Regions from separate parts of the Homo sapiens genome. Here region 1 is linked to region 2. The links are contacts of gene promoters, found by promoter capture Hi-C in blood cells and fetal thymus (Javierre and others, 2016). All regions are on one chromosome and are shown on one strand. The core of a region is centred on a gene start or on the middle of the fragment in contact, and the rest is flanking DNA. Distances in the headings are between cores, read along the strand shown. Region 1 overlaps LOC105376652 (a long non-coding RNA gene). Region 2 holds the start of TSPAN18 (tetraspanin 18).

What was found. The method cuts DNA at HindIII sites, captures the fragments that hold promoters and counts their contacts. A CHiCAGO score of 5 or more calls a contact.
Region 1: a fragment that was not itself captured here is called in contact with the fragment with the promoter of TSPAN18 in region 2 in 1 of 17 cell types (total CD8 T cells); the score reaches 5.4 in total CD8 T cells.

What each region holds. Positions count from the first base shown.
Region 1 is chr11:45,118,286-45,125,311 of GRCh38, forward strand. All of the region lies in intron 3 of LOC105376652 (a long non-coding RNA gene), which reads right to left. It also overlaps a transcript of PRDM11 not described here. Among named protein-coding and RNA genes, the nearest start is that of PRDM11, 25 kb to the right of the region's middle. The HindIII fragment of the contact is 566 bases long and covers 3,141-3,706 here.
Region 2 is chr11:44,722,892-44,729,321 of GRCh38, forward strand. TSPAN18 (tetraspanin 18) reads left to right here and starts at 4,071. Exons shown (of 10, transcript NM_130783.5): 1 at 4,071-4,396. All of the region lies in intron 2 of TSPAN18-AS1 (TSPAN18 antisense RNA 1), which reads right to left. RefSeq lists enhancers at 2,599-3,459, 3,460-4,321, 3,688-3,857, 5,573-6,075, 6,076-6,430 and silencers at 4,048-4,197, 5,034-5,203. The HindIII fragment of the contact is 6,014 bases long and covers 3,221-6,430 here.

The DNA.
Region 1 (7,026 bases), core at 2,174-4,673, 390 kb after region 2:
TTAATCATAATGTATCAAAATATTGTTTGATTAACTGTAACAAATATAGTTATGTAGGATAATAGTTAGGAGAAATTGGTTAGGGGTGCATAGGAACTCTGTACTGTTTTCCCAATTTTTCTGTAAATCTAAAACTTCAAAAAATAAAATCTACCAAAAATAAAAAATATTAGCAAATTAAATTCATCAACACATAAAAATGATGACACATCATGACTAAGTGAGTTTCCTCCCGGGAATGCAAGTTTGTTTTAACATTCCAAAACCAATTCACCTGTTAATGGAATAAAGAGGAAATATCATACAATTATCTCAACAGATGCAGAGAAAAAGGATTTGACAGAATTTAACACTCATTTGTGATAAAAGCATTCAGCAAATTAGCAGTAGATGGGAACTTCCTCCATATGATAAATGAAATCTATGGAGATATAATAAAATACTGTAACTCATTTCATATTGGGTTAAGTATGAATGACAAAATGTTTTTCCTCCAAAATCAGCAATAAGACATGAATACTCACTCTTGTTATTTCTACTCAGCATAGCACTGATAGTTCTAGCTAGGGCAATTAGGAAAGAAGAAAAAATGCATGAAATTGAAAAGGAAGGAAAAGAGCTGTCAGAGTTTGTATGGGGTTGAAATAGTCCGTTTTGGGCATGGACTGGCAGTCTGCCTTGGCCCAGTCAGAGAAACTCCACTGAGGGAGAGAAAAATTATAATCCCTTTTGGTGGTTGCTGGGTCAGCTGCAATGATTTATAACCTAAAAGAGGTCCAAACACAAGACCATATTCTTCCACAGAAGTTTTCTGTGTTCTGGAGCTACAGCAAGCTGAGGCTCTGATCTATAATGACAAAGGAGAAACTCTTGCATAGGTGGTTAGGAGACCAAATCACACTAGACCAGGGACCTACTTGCAAGAATCACAAACTAGTTTCCTTCCTGAAACATCTGTCAGATTTTGAACTTGTGAGAGTAGGCAAATGAAAGAGGGAAGCTCAAAACATTCCAAGGTCAGACGGAACTTTCAGATTCTCAATGAAAAACCTGGTAAGGCGGCCGGGCGCGGTGGCTCACGCCTGTAATCCCAGCACTTTGGGAGGCCGAGTTGGGCGGATCACGAGGTCAGGAGATCGAGACCATTCTGGCTAACACGGTGAAACCCTGTCTCTACTATAAAAAATACAAAAAATTAGCCAGGCGAGGTGGAGGGCGCCTGTAGTCCCAGCTACGCGGGAGGCTGAGGCAGGAGAATTGCGTGAACCCCAGTGGGTGGAGCCTGCAGTGAGTGCCACTGCACTCCAACCTGGGTGACAGCGAGATTCTGTCTCAAAAAAAAAAAAAAAAAAAAAAAAAAAAAACACCTGGTAAGGCCATACCAGGAAGAATAGGCAGGTACCAGTGGCGGACTGAGTCTTACTAATACTGTAATGCAGCCACAAGATTATCAGTCCCTTACCCCATTTTCTTAACAGAATAAAAGACTAAACCCTAATTACTGAAAGATATTATCTATAGCCTCTATGGTCCTTCTATGAGCAGCATCTGGCAGTGACAGTGACAGTGACAAAGTAGGAGATGAGCAAGGAAGGGGGAAAATGTGAACAAAAAATAGCAGAGCCACTGCTGACCCAGTTACTGGAGTTAGCAGTAAGGACATAAAAACAGCCATGATCAGCATGTGAAAATAAATACAGGAAAAGATGCGCAAGATGGATTAAAAAGTGGAGAATTAAAATAGTTAGAATATCTCTTAAAAATCCAATGGCCATTCTAGAATTGAAAATATATCAGAATTTTAAGAATTTGTTGAATGTATTTAACAGGAGACTGAACACAGTGTATGACTGGATAGTGAACTGGAACTCAATAGAAATTATCCACACTGAAGCACACAGAAATAAAGCTGGGAGGGAGAGGGAACAGAACAGAGCATAAAGGCATGTGAGGTACTAACAAAAGTTCTAACATACACATATGTGGAGTATCAGAAAGAAAGGAGAGAGGAATGAGGCATAACCAGTATTTGAATAAATCATGCCTGAGAATTTTCCAAATACCACAGATTTAGTTTTATAAAGCAAGGCAAAACCCAAGCAGGATAGATACAATGTAAAACCACATGCAGGCTCATAATAAACTGCTGAAAGACAAAGACAAAGACAAACAGTAAAAAGCTGCTAGAGGAAAAAAGGAACCATTACCTTAAAAGAAGTAACAGTAAAACTGACCACTGGTCTTCACTAGAATCTATGGAAGCTAGAAAAAGAATATTGCCAACTTAGAATTCTATATCCACTAAAATGTCCTTTAAAATTAAAGGTGAAATATATTTTCATTAAAAAAAAAACCACATACAGAATCATCACCAGCAGACCAGTATCACAATAAATCAAAAGAGAGTCTGTCCTTCATGGTGAAGGAAAATGAGCCCAGAGAGAACAGACCACAGGAAGGAGTGAATAGTACCCAAGACAATAAGTATGTAGGTAAACATAAAACAATATTGATTACTTAAACCAGCAATAATGACAATGTATCTTCAGCTCATAATATATGTATGAGTACCAATATATGACAATAATAGCACAAAGGGCAAGAGCAGATAAAGTTGAGTTAAACTGTTGTAAGGTTCTTGCATTGAAGGTTCTTGCATTGTTCAAGAAGAAGTAACAGTGCAACCTTAAGGTAGACTGTAATAATTCAGGGATGCAGTTTAGATCCACTGAAAGAAAAAAAGAACATATAACCACGAAGCTAACAGAAGTGACAAAAATAGTCGATAAGTCAAGAAAGGCAGGAAAGGAGGAATTAAAAAACGAAGAATAGATGGTTCAAATAAAAATCAAATCACACGATGGTAGTTTGATACTACCAACTATATCAGCAATTACATTAATTATAAATGGATAAATAGTATAATATGAAATAATTGTCAGATTGAACTAAAAAAACAAGATGCAAATATTAGTTGTTTATAAGAGATACACACAATATAGGAGGACACAAGTTGAAAGGAAAAGAATGAAAAGATATTGCTGGAAACCATTAACAAAAAGCTGGTGTGGTTATATTACTATCTGATAAAGTAGACTTAAAGAAGTAACTTCCCCATATTAGTATGCTCCTCATTTCAAAGCTTCAAATATGCAAAGCAAAAGTAACAGAATTTTTAAAAAAGAAATGGGCAAATTCAAAATCAGAGTTACAGATTTAACACACTTCTCTCAGAAAATGCTAAAACAAGCAAGCAAACAAAAAACAGTGAAATACTGAATATTTAAACAACACAATTAAGCAATTTTATCTGGTTAATGTATATACAACATTATATTGAATAACTGCAGAATGAATATTATTTTGAAGTGCTTGTGGAACATTTACCACAATAGACTACACAATGGGTCATAAAGCAATTAACACAAATTTCAAAGAACTGAAATTATACAGAATATGCTCTCTAACTGGAGTGGAGTTAATTAGAAATCTATATAAAAAGGCAACTAGAAAATCTCTAAATGCTTGAAAATTAAGCAACACACTGCTAAATAGTCCATGGGCCAAAGGAAACATTACAACAGCAAATATTTAGAGTGGGATAATGAAAATTGTGAGCTGCATCTAAAGGCTGTGGTTACAGAAACATTTATAGCCTTAAATGCAATTCTTAGAGAAAAAGATATACGGAAAATTAATGAATCTAAGCTTCCCTCTCAGGAAGATAGATAAACAACAGCAAATTAAACCTCAAGAAAGTGGAAGGAAAGAAATAGTAAAGATGAAAGCAGAAATCAAATAGGAAAAAAAATACACAGTGGAGAAAATGAGCAAAGATAAAAGTTAGGCCTTTAAATAAGTAAATAAAATGTATAAACCCCTACTAAGAAGAGAGACACAGACAGACACACACACAGACACACACACACACACACACACACACACACACACAGAGAGAAACAGAATATCAGCTAAGAAAGTGGGTTATCAGTACAGGTTCTAGAGACATTTAAAAGATATCATGGTATTTTTTTTATTATTATTATACTTTAAGTCTTAGGGTACATGTGCACAATGTGAAGGTTTGTTACACATGTATACCATGTATACATGTATACATGGTATACATATGCCATGTTGGTGTACTGCACCCATTAACTCGTCATTTAGCATTAGGTATATCTCCTAATGCTATCCCTCCCCCCTCCCTCCACCCCACAACAGTCCCTGGAGTGTGATGTTCCCCTTCCTGTGTCCATGTGTTCTCATTGTTCAATTCCCACCTATGAGTGAGAACATGCAGTGTTTGGTTTTTTTGTCCTTGTGATAGTTTGCTGAGAATGATGACTTCCAGTTTCATCCATGTCCCTACAAAGGACATGAACTCCTCATTTTTTATGGCTGCATAGTATTCCATGGTGTATATGTGCCACATTTTCTTAATCCAGTCTATCGTTGTTGGACATTTGGGTTGGTTCCAAGTCTTTGCTATTGTGAATAGTGCCACAGTAAACATACATGTGCATGTGTCTTTATAGCAGCATGATTTATAGTCCTTTGGGTACATACCCAGTAATGGGATGGCTGGGTCAAATGGTATTTCTAGTTCTAGATCCCTGAGGAATCGCCACACTGACTTTCACAATGGTTGAACTAGTTTACTAGTCCCACCAACAGTGTAAAAGTGTTCCTATTTCTCCACTTCCTCTCCAGCACCTGTTGTTTCCTGACTTTTTAATGATCGCCATTCTAACTGGTGTGAGATGGTATCTCATTGTGGTTTTGATTTGCATTTCTCTGATGGCCAGTGATGATGAGCATTTTTTCATGTGTTTTTTGGCTGCATACATGTCTTCTTTTGAGAAGTGTCTGTTCATATCCTCCCCCCACTTTTTGATAGGGTTGTTTGTCTTTTTCTTGTAAATTTGTTTGAGTTCATTGTAGATTCTGGATATTAGCCCTTTGTCAGATGAGTAGATTGCAAAAATTTTCTCCCATTTTGTAGGTTGCCTGTTCACTGTGATGGTGGTTTCTTCTGCTGTGCAGAAGCTCTTTAGTTTAGTTAGATCCCATTTGTCAATTTTGGCTTTTGTTGCCATTGCTTTTGGTGTTTTAGACATGAAGTCCTTGCCCATGCCTATGTCCTGAATGGTATTGCCTAGGTTTTCTTCTAGGGTTTTTTATGGTTTTAGGTCTAACATGTAAGTCTTTAATCCATCTTGAATTAATTTTTGTATAAGGTGTAAGAAAGGGATCCAGTTTCAGCTTTCTACATATGGCTAGCCAGTTTTCCCAGCATCATTTATTAAATAGGGAATCCTTTCCCCATTGCTTGTTTTTGTCAGGTTTGTCAAAGATCAGATAGTTGTAGATATGCAGCATTATTTCTGAGGGCTCTGTTCTGTTCCATTGATCTATATCTCTGTTTTGGTACCAGTACCATGCTGTTTTGGTTACTGTAGCCTTGTAGTATAGTTTGAAGTCAGGTAGCGTGATGCCTCCGGCTTTGTTCTTTTGGCTTAGGATTGACTTGGCGATGCAGGCTCTTTTTTGGTTCCATATGAATTTTAAAGTAATTTTTTCCAATTCTGTGAAGAAAGTCATTGGTAGCTTGATGGGGATGGCATTGAATCTATAAATTACCTTGGGCAGTATGGCCATTTTCACGATATTGATTCTTCCTACCCATGAGCATGGAATGTTCTTCCATTTGTTTGTATCCTCTTTTATTTCATTGAGCAGTGGTTTGTAGTTCTCCTTGAAGAGGTCCTTCACATCCCTTGTAAGTTGGATTCCTAGGTATTTTATTCTCTTTGAAGCAATTGTGAATGGGAGTTCACTCATGATTTGGCTCTCTGTTTGTCTGTTATTGGTGTATAAGAATGCTTGTGATTTTTGTACATTGATTTTGTATCCTGAGACTTTGCTGAAGTTGCTTATCAGCTTGAGATTTTGGGCTGAGACAATGGGGTTTTCTAGATTTACAATCATGTCATCTTCAAACAGGGACAATTTGACTTCCTCTTTTCCTAATTGAATACCCTTTATTTCCTTCTCCTGCCTAATTGACCTGGCCAGAACTTCCAACACTATGTTGAATAGGAGTGGTGAGAGAGGGCATCCCTGTCTTGTGCCAGTTTTCAAAGGGAATGCTTCCAGTTTTTGCCCATTCAGTATGATATTGGCTGTGGGTTTGTCACAGATAGCTCTCATTATTTTGAGATACGTCCCATCAATACCTAATTGAGAGTTTTTAGCACGAAGGGTTGTTGAATTTTGTCAAAGGCCTTTTCTGCATCTATTGAGATAATCATGTGGTTTTTGTCTTTAGTTCTGTTTATATGCTGGATTACATTTATTGATTTGCATATGTTGAACCAGCCTTGCATCCCAGGGATGAAGCCCACTTGATCATGGTGGATAAGCTTTTTGATGTGCTGCTGGATTCAGTTTGCCAGTATTTTATTGAGGATTTTTGCATCAATGTTCATCAAGGATATTGGTCTAACATTCTCTGTTTTGGTTATGTCTCTGCCAGGCTTTGGTATCAGGATGATGCTGGCCTCATAAAATGAGTTAGGGAGGATTCCTTCTTTTTCTATTGATTGGAATAGTTTCAGAAGGAATGGTACCAGCTCCTCCTTGTACCTCTGGTAGAATTTGGCTGTGAATCCATCTGGTCCTGGACTTTTTTTGGTTGGTAAGCTATTGATTATTGCCACAATTTCAGAGCCTGTTATTGGTCTATTCAGAGATTCAACTTCTTCCTGGTTTAGTCTTGGGATGGTGTATGTGTTGAGGAATTTATCCATTTCTTCTAGATTTTCTAGTTTATTTGCATAGAGGTGTTTGTAGTATTCTCTGATGGTAGTTTGTATTTCTGTGGGATCGGTGGTGATATCCCCTTTATCATTTTTTATTGCATCTATTTGATTCTTCTCTCTTTTCTTCTTTATTAGTCTTGCTAGCGGTCTATCAATTTTGTTGATCTTTTCAAAAAACCAGCTCCTGGATTCATTAATTTTT
Region 2 (6,430 bases), core at 2,821-5,320:
CTGTTTCTGGCTAAAGCTGGGAGGGGGATTGCTCGTCCTCTCTCACCACTCTCATTCTTAAGATATTCTCATTCTTAAGATACCCAGGAGCAGTACCTACCAACCCAACTTGAAACCTGTTGATCTTGTCCAGATGCCTCATTTCACAGATGGTAACACTGAGGCCCAGAGAGGGGAAGGAATCGCCCAGATGGCCAAGACTGGAACGTGGGCCTGTGGACTCCTGGTTCAGGGATCTTTGCTGGGCATTAGGTCTGCAAATGCTCACCCCAATCACTGTAAATCCTGTGTACAGTGATTGGGGCGTAGAACCTGGGTGGTGCAGCACTAGACACACTTCGGTGAATTTGGGGCTTTTAGGCCAATTCAACTTTTTTCTCCAGATGCTGGAGAAAGCGAAGCCTAAGAGCTTCCTAGGGGAAAGGTGAGTATTTTCAGAAGAACCACTTCCACTAGATGCCCCAATTCCAGAGGTATTGAAAGCACCCTGGCCTGGGAGTCAGGAGGTCTGGGTTCAATGCCCAGCTCTTAACCATGATGAGAATCTAGTCTATGTTTCTTCCTCAGTTTCCCTATTGGTGAAATGAAGTGGTTGGATTACAGTGAATTCTCCACAAGTTTCCTTCCCGAATCTTTTTAGAACTTTCAGGCCAGGCCACTTCCGGGTTTCTGCCAACCTAGACTCCAGTGGGTCGGCTCTGGCCTTCACTGCTCCTTCTCCCTCCTGAGGACTGCCCATCCATCCACAGCCCCACCACCTGCTCTTTCGTTCCTTCCCAGCTTCTCCCCTCTTTAGCCCCTCTCCTTGGTGGAGACTTCACCCTCTAAGTTTCCTGATAAGCCACAATCTTGGTGTCTTACTTGCTTTCATCAAACAGCCAAAGGGATTCTATGGGCCATTTGCCCAAGCCTCCATTTTACAGATGTAAGGACCGAGGCCAGAGAAGGGAGGGATTTCCTCAAGATTACCTTGTGAGAGGGAGGTGCGGTCTTCCTGTAACCCGAGTCAGCCTTATCTTGTCCAGGACTAAATTTTTCGGGCGCCTAACTTTAAAAAAATAAAGTACTTTTTTGGCCTAATATAAGGTTGGTACAAAAGTAATTGTGGTTCTCGCCATTACATTCAATGATGAGATCCACAATTACTTTTTTCTTTTTTTTTTTTTGAGACAGAGTCTAGCTCTGTCGCCAGGCTGGAGTTCAGTGGCGCAATGTCGGCTCACTGCAACCTCTGCCTCTCGGGTTCAAGCAATTCTCCTGCCTCAGCCTCCCGAATAGCTAGGATTACAGGCACGTGCTGCCATGCCCAGCTAATTTTTGTATTTTTAGTAGAGACGGGGTTTCACCATGTTGGCCAGGAGGGTTTCAATCTCCTGACCTCGTGATCCACCCACCTAGGCCTCCCAAAGTGTTGGGATTACAGGTGTGAGCCACTGCACCCAGCCCACAATTACTTTTGCACCAATACATAGAATTATGTTTCCCAATTGAGAGGACATTCGAGATGTTCAAGGAAATTAAGGTCATTGGAGGTAATCCAAGGGCCTCCAATACCCTAATTGACCTGGTGAGGAGTGGGAGTGGAGGGGGTCCCTTCCCAATTCTCTTTTCATCAATGCTCTTGATGAAGAGTTTGTTGCTAATGTGTCTTTAACACCTTTCTAGCCTTTGGTAACCTTCCTTTCAAAGAGAAAGTGGGACCTCAGCTTCAACACCTCCTCAGGCAGCAGTATCTTGTTAGACTGTATTATTATTATTGTGGTTAAAGATACATTGTTAGAATTTAATAACACTTATTTTCATTGTATTTATTTTGATGGTTACCTTCTATTTATAGTAATGTGATGCTGGCTTTCCATTTATGGTAATAATTTAACATATCTTTTTAAAAACAAGCTCACTTAAGTAAATTAAAAAAGAATGAAAAAATAAGAGTTGATTTAGAGAAGCCTATTCAGCAGATGTCCTTAGCTAATGCACAGATAGGGCCAGGTCCTCCATGGAGGCTGGAGAGAGGCTGAGGTCCAGGAAACTGACTTGGAACTGGAGTCAGGGACCGAGCTGGTTGTCTAAGTTGTGCAGCGGGTCTGCACTCTCTTCCCCTGCGCCTGCCCCGTTCTGCCAAGCCCCAGACCCTTAGAGACTCTATCCCTCTCTCTGCCTGTCTCTGGTCTCCACTTCCCCAGCTCCAGCACCCTTGCTGTGGGCTTCCCGTTTTTCCTCTTTAAATGTATGTGGCGCCTGGTGTCCAAGGAGGCTCACACGGGGCCTCTCCCAGCAGCATTCCACAAGTGCAGGGCCTGTGGGGTGTTCAGCCTCCACCCTCCATTCTGTTTTGGCAGCTGAAGGGTGAATGTGGAGCCCTTCTCCTTGTCCTCCTCTTATAGAAATTCCACCATTAGGGACTTCCTCCCCTTGGGTGAAGCTTTGCTCACTCTGGGTCCCTTTGAAACCGCGGATCCAGGGATTTTTCTTCCAGCCACGTGCCTACTCTAAGAGTCCCGGTGACGCGGTGAAGTTCTTTAAAGGACCAGACATCCCTGAAGTCCTTACAGGGACATCCCCTTACAGGGACGAATCCATTTCCTGGAATGTGGGCAAGGAAAGGCAGCCACTTCCTGCCTCTCAAAACTCTGGCTGGTGGCTGGGTGCAGTGGCTACGTCTGTCATCTCAGCACTTTGGGAGACTGAGGTGGGAGGATCACTTGAGGCCAGGAATTGGAGACCAGCCTGGGCAACATGGTAAGAGTCCAGCTCTACAAAACACACACGCACACACACACACACACACACACACACACACACACACACACCAAAAACAACAGAAAACATTAGCCAGGCATGATGGCACATGCCTCTGGTCCCAGCTACTCGAGGGGGCTGAGTTGGAAGGATTGGATTGCTTGAGCCCAGGAGGTCGAGCCTACAGTAAGCCGTGCAGGAGGTCGGGCTACAGTGAGCTGTGCTTGTTGACCAGGCTTGTCCAGCCTGGTCAGCAGAGCGAGACCTTGTCTCAAAAACAAAACAAAAACAAAACAAGAAGATCCCCCTCCCCCCAAACTCTGCCCAGTGGCCTGACTACCAACATCCATATACAAGACAGGAGTAGGGTCAACTCCTTCCTATCAGTCACCCCTTAGTGAGAATCAGCTGGCCAAGGGGCCTCCTGCAGAGCTGATGTGTGCTTGAATGCCTAGGGCCCACGGGGATGGGGTGTGGAAGCTTCAAGCTGGGACTCAAAACAGAGTTGCCAAGGGAAGAGGAGTGGGCGACCCGAGCCCCTGTCATCAGTACTTTCACTTGGGCTGTCAGTTTTGATCTGCTTGCTTGTCCGTTTTGTCTGGGGCAGGGTCGGGTAGTTGTTTAGAGGAGGCTCAGAGGTTAAAAGTCTCAGGCAAGTCATGTCAGGGGTTGGGAGCCAGTGCTGCTGTGGCAGCAGTACAGAGAAGAAAAGATAAGCTCCCCAGCCCCGCAAGAACCTCAGCCCTGAGGCCGGAGACACAGATCTGGCCCCTTGCAATCAAGTCATTTGCATCTGACCTGGGGTCAGGCCCCTCCATGCAGGAAGTCCCCTTTCTTATCTGCAAGTCAGAGGAGGGTGAGTTCCCCAGGCTTTCAACAGGTACTTCCCCCGGCAGCGGGAAGCCCAGGAGCCCGATCAGGACCGAGGATCTCACCCCAACCCCTGCGTTTGGGCCCCGGGGTCAGCTGAAAGTTCCCCTGGAATAAACACTTCGGGTCCAGCATGCCCCTCTCCCCACTCCCGCAACGATCTTCCGAATTCAGACGCAGAGAGGGCCCGCGAGCAGAGCGGGAGGTGGTCGGAGGCGGAGGAAGGGGAGATGGGCAGAGGGTGGGCCCAGGGACCCCCAGACAAGGCCTGGACGCGGGGTTGGAGGAGGAGGCGGAGGCTGGCGGGAGGCGAGGGGCAGCCCGCAGAGGAGACGCGCTTCTCGGCAGCAACGGCGTCTGGAGCCGGGAGGGGCGGAGGTTTGGGGAGGGGGAGGGAGGGCGGGGGAGGGGAGGGACGGACGGCGGCGGAGGTGGGGCCGGCGGGCTGGCGGGCGTGCAGCTGCCGCCGGCGTCGCGGGGCTCCAGGCTGCGGGGCGGACGTAGCGCCGAGCGATCCACCGCGGAGCCGCGCGAGGCCGCCCGAGCCCCAGCCCCGGCCCCGGCCCCAGCCCCGGCCCCGGCCCCGGCCCCGGCCCCGGCCCCGGTCCCGGCCCCGAGCCCCGAGCGAGCGCCGCCGCCTCGCGCTGCGGGTCCCCGGACGCGCCGCCACCGCCGGGAAGGCAGCCGGCGCCGGGCAAGTTGCGAGCGCGCCCCTCCGACCAGGAAAGTTTCCCCCCGGCCGCCGGCGGGATTTGGCGCGGGGTCCGGCAGCCGCCGCTGGAAGGTATGGGGCTCCGCACCTCCGTGCCCTCCGCACGCCGCCGCCGCGCCCCCGGGGACCTGGGGACCCCCCCGCGCGCCGCCCCGGGGGTGCTGCTGGACGCGGCGGGGAATTGGGGTGGAGTAGGGATCCCAGGACGGAAGCCCGGCAACCAAGTTCCACTCAAACTAGCACGCGGGGGCTGGGGGGCCGGGGACGGTCTCCACCCCGTGCCTGCCCGGAGTCCGCTGAGGGCCGGGGGCTGCGCCCAGGACAGGTGCAGAGCCGGTGGGCTCCCAGTGCTCCGGGTGGAGGAGTGGGGGCTTCTGGAGAACGGCGCGGGGTGGCAGGTGTGGTTACAAGGTTCGGGGTTTCGGCCAGGGCTGCGCCCGGAAAGGGGCTGCTCGCCACGCCACCCGGTAAGACAGTGAGGGACCAGGGACTGGGAGCGGCGATCGGGGCCGGGAGGGCTGTGGGGCCCGGCAGCTGCATGGAGGGCGGGCTGCCTTTGGGGTCCCTGGCAGCGGGGCGGGGCGGGGCGGAGGCGCCACTCGTTCCTCCAGGACCCCCCTTATTCCTTAGGTGTGTGCGGTTTGGGGAAGTGGAGACTCCATGGAGTGCTGGGTGGGTGGGAGGCTCGGGCACGTCCAGATTTAGGGGGCAGTGGGAGCCAGTTGGGACGGTGCTCGGCTCGGGTGGGATCGCGCCGGCTCCGGGTCCTGCTGGAGTGAGGTGACTGGGCTCCCGCCAGGGGGCGCACTGCCCCGGCCCTCGCCAGCAGGAAGCGCGTTCTGGCTCCTGCGAGGCAACCGCGCCGACATCCAGGACGCAGGGACCACAGACACCCAACTTACGCGGGGTCCCGCCCCGAGGAGCCCGCCCTACACTAGCCAGACGGGGGAGCGGGACCAAGAGTGAGGCGAAAGGTTCACAGTTATAACTGCGCCGTGGGCTGGAAAGGCTAGGAGTCAGGATGTGATTTTTCTCGGGAAGGCTGCCAGGGCAAATGGATGAGTAAGAAATTTACCCCCAGAAAAAGATGTAAGAAACTACAACTGCGAATTGGTGCAGAGAGAGTGGGTTGGGGAATTAACTTTTTGACGGTTTTTGGAGTTGCAGAAACCCAAACCCCAAAATGCATGCACCCTTTTTGTAAAAGTTGCACCTTTGTTTCCTGGATCTGGTCGAATCCCTGTCTGGTGAAGGCAGGATGGGGGTCTTGGGGTATCCTCTCTCTGGGCACAAGTAAACTGGGAGGCACAGGGCGGGCGGTGGGGGATGGGGCCTTAAAGACTTCAGCAGTCCAGGCAGAAGTGTTAAATTTCTCAGCAGTCAACGAGCCCTGGCCCCCACCCTCATCCCCTGGGTCTGTGGTCTCTAGGCCACATTCTTCTGGTCATTTCACAATTATTGGTGGAAATCTGCCCTGGGTCCCAGTTGTCTGGCCTCAGGGTCCCTGTATGTTGAGTCTGTGTGTCTGTGCCTTGGGAAGTCGACGGCTGCTGGCATCTGTGAGGACTGTCATCTTTGTCATGTGCGGGGCTAACATTGAAGGGACATTGGAGGGACTATTGCCTCATCTTTCTCTCCAGTTCCCTCCCTCCTCCCATCACCCCAAGTGAGTGCAAAGGAGCAAATCATAGATTGTGCCGTGGCCTCATTGTGGTTGGTAGAAGTTTTCATCTTTCTCTTAGCTGGTAACCTGTGCTCCTTGGGCAGCCCCCCTCCTGCTCCCATGTCCTTAATGTCCCTTACAAAGGTGGGGGAAATGGGGGTCCCTGAAAGAGATGAGGTTCCTCTGTTCAATGTAGTCTGCCACATGTTTTTGTTGGATGCTACTGAAATGCTCCAGGACAAAGTTGCCATAAAGACAGATCAGCATGATTTTTATTTTGAATAGAAGAGGAGGAGGAGAGAGGAGAGAAAGGAAAGGGTGGAGAAGCCTGCTGTGTCTGGATAGGTCTTTAAGACATTCCAGGGGGCTGGAAAACAAAAGAAGTTTTTTTTTGTTGTGTTTTGCTTTTAGTGACTCTTGTTTTTCTGTGGAGGGAAGCCTGC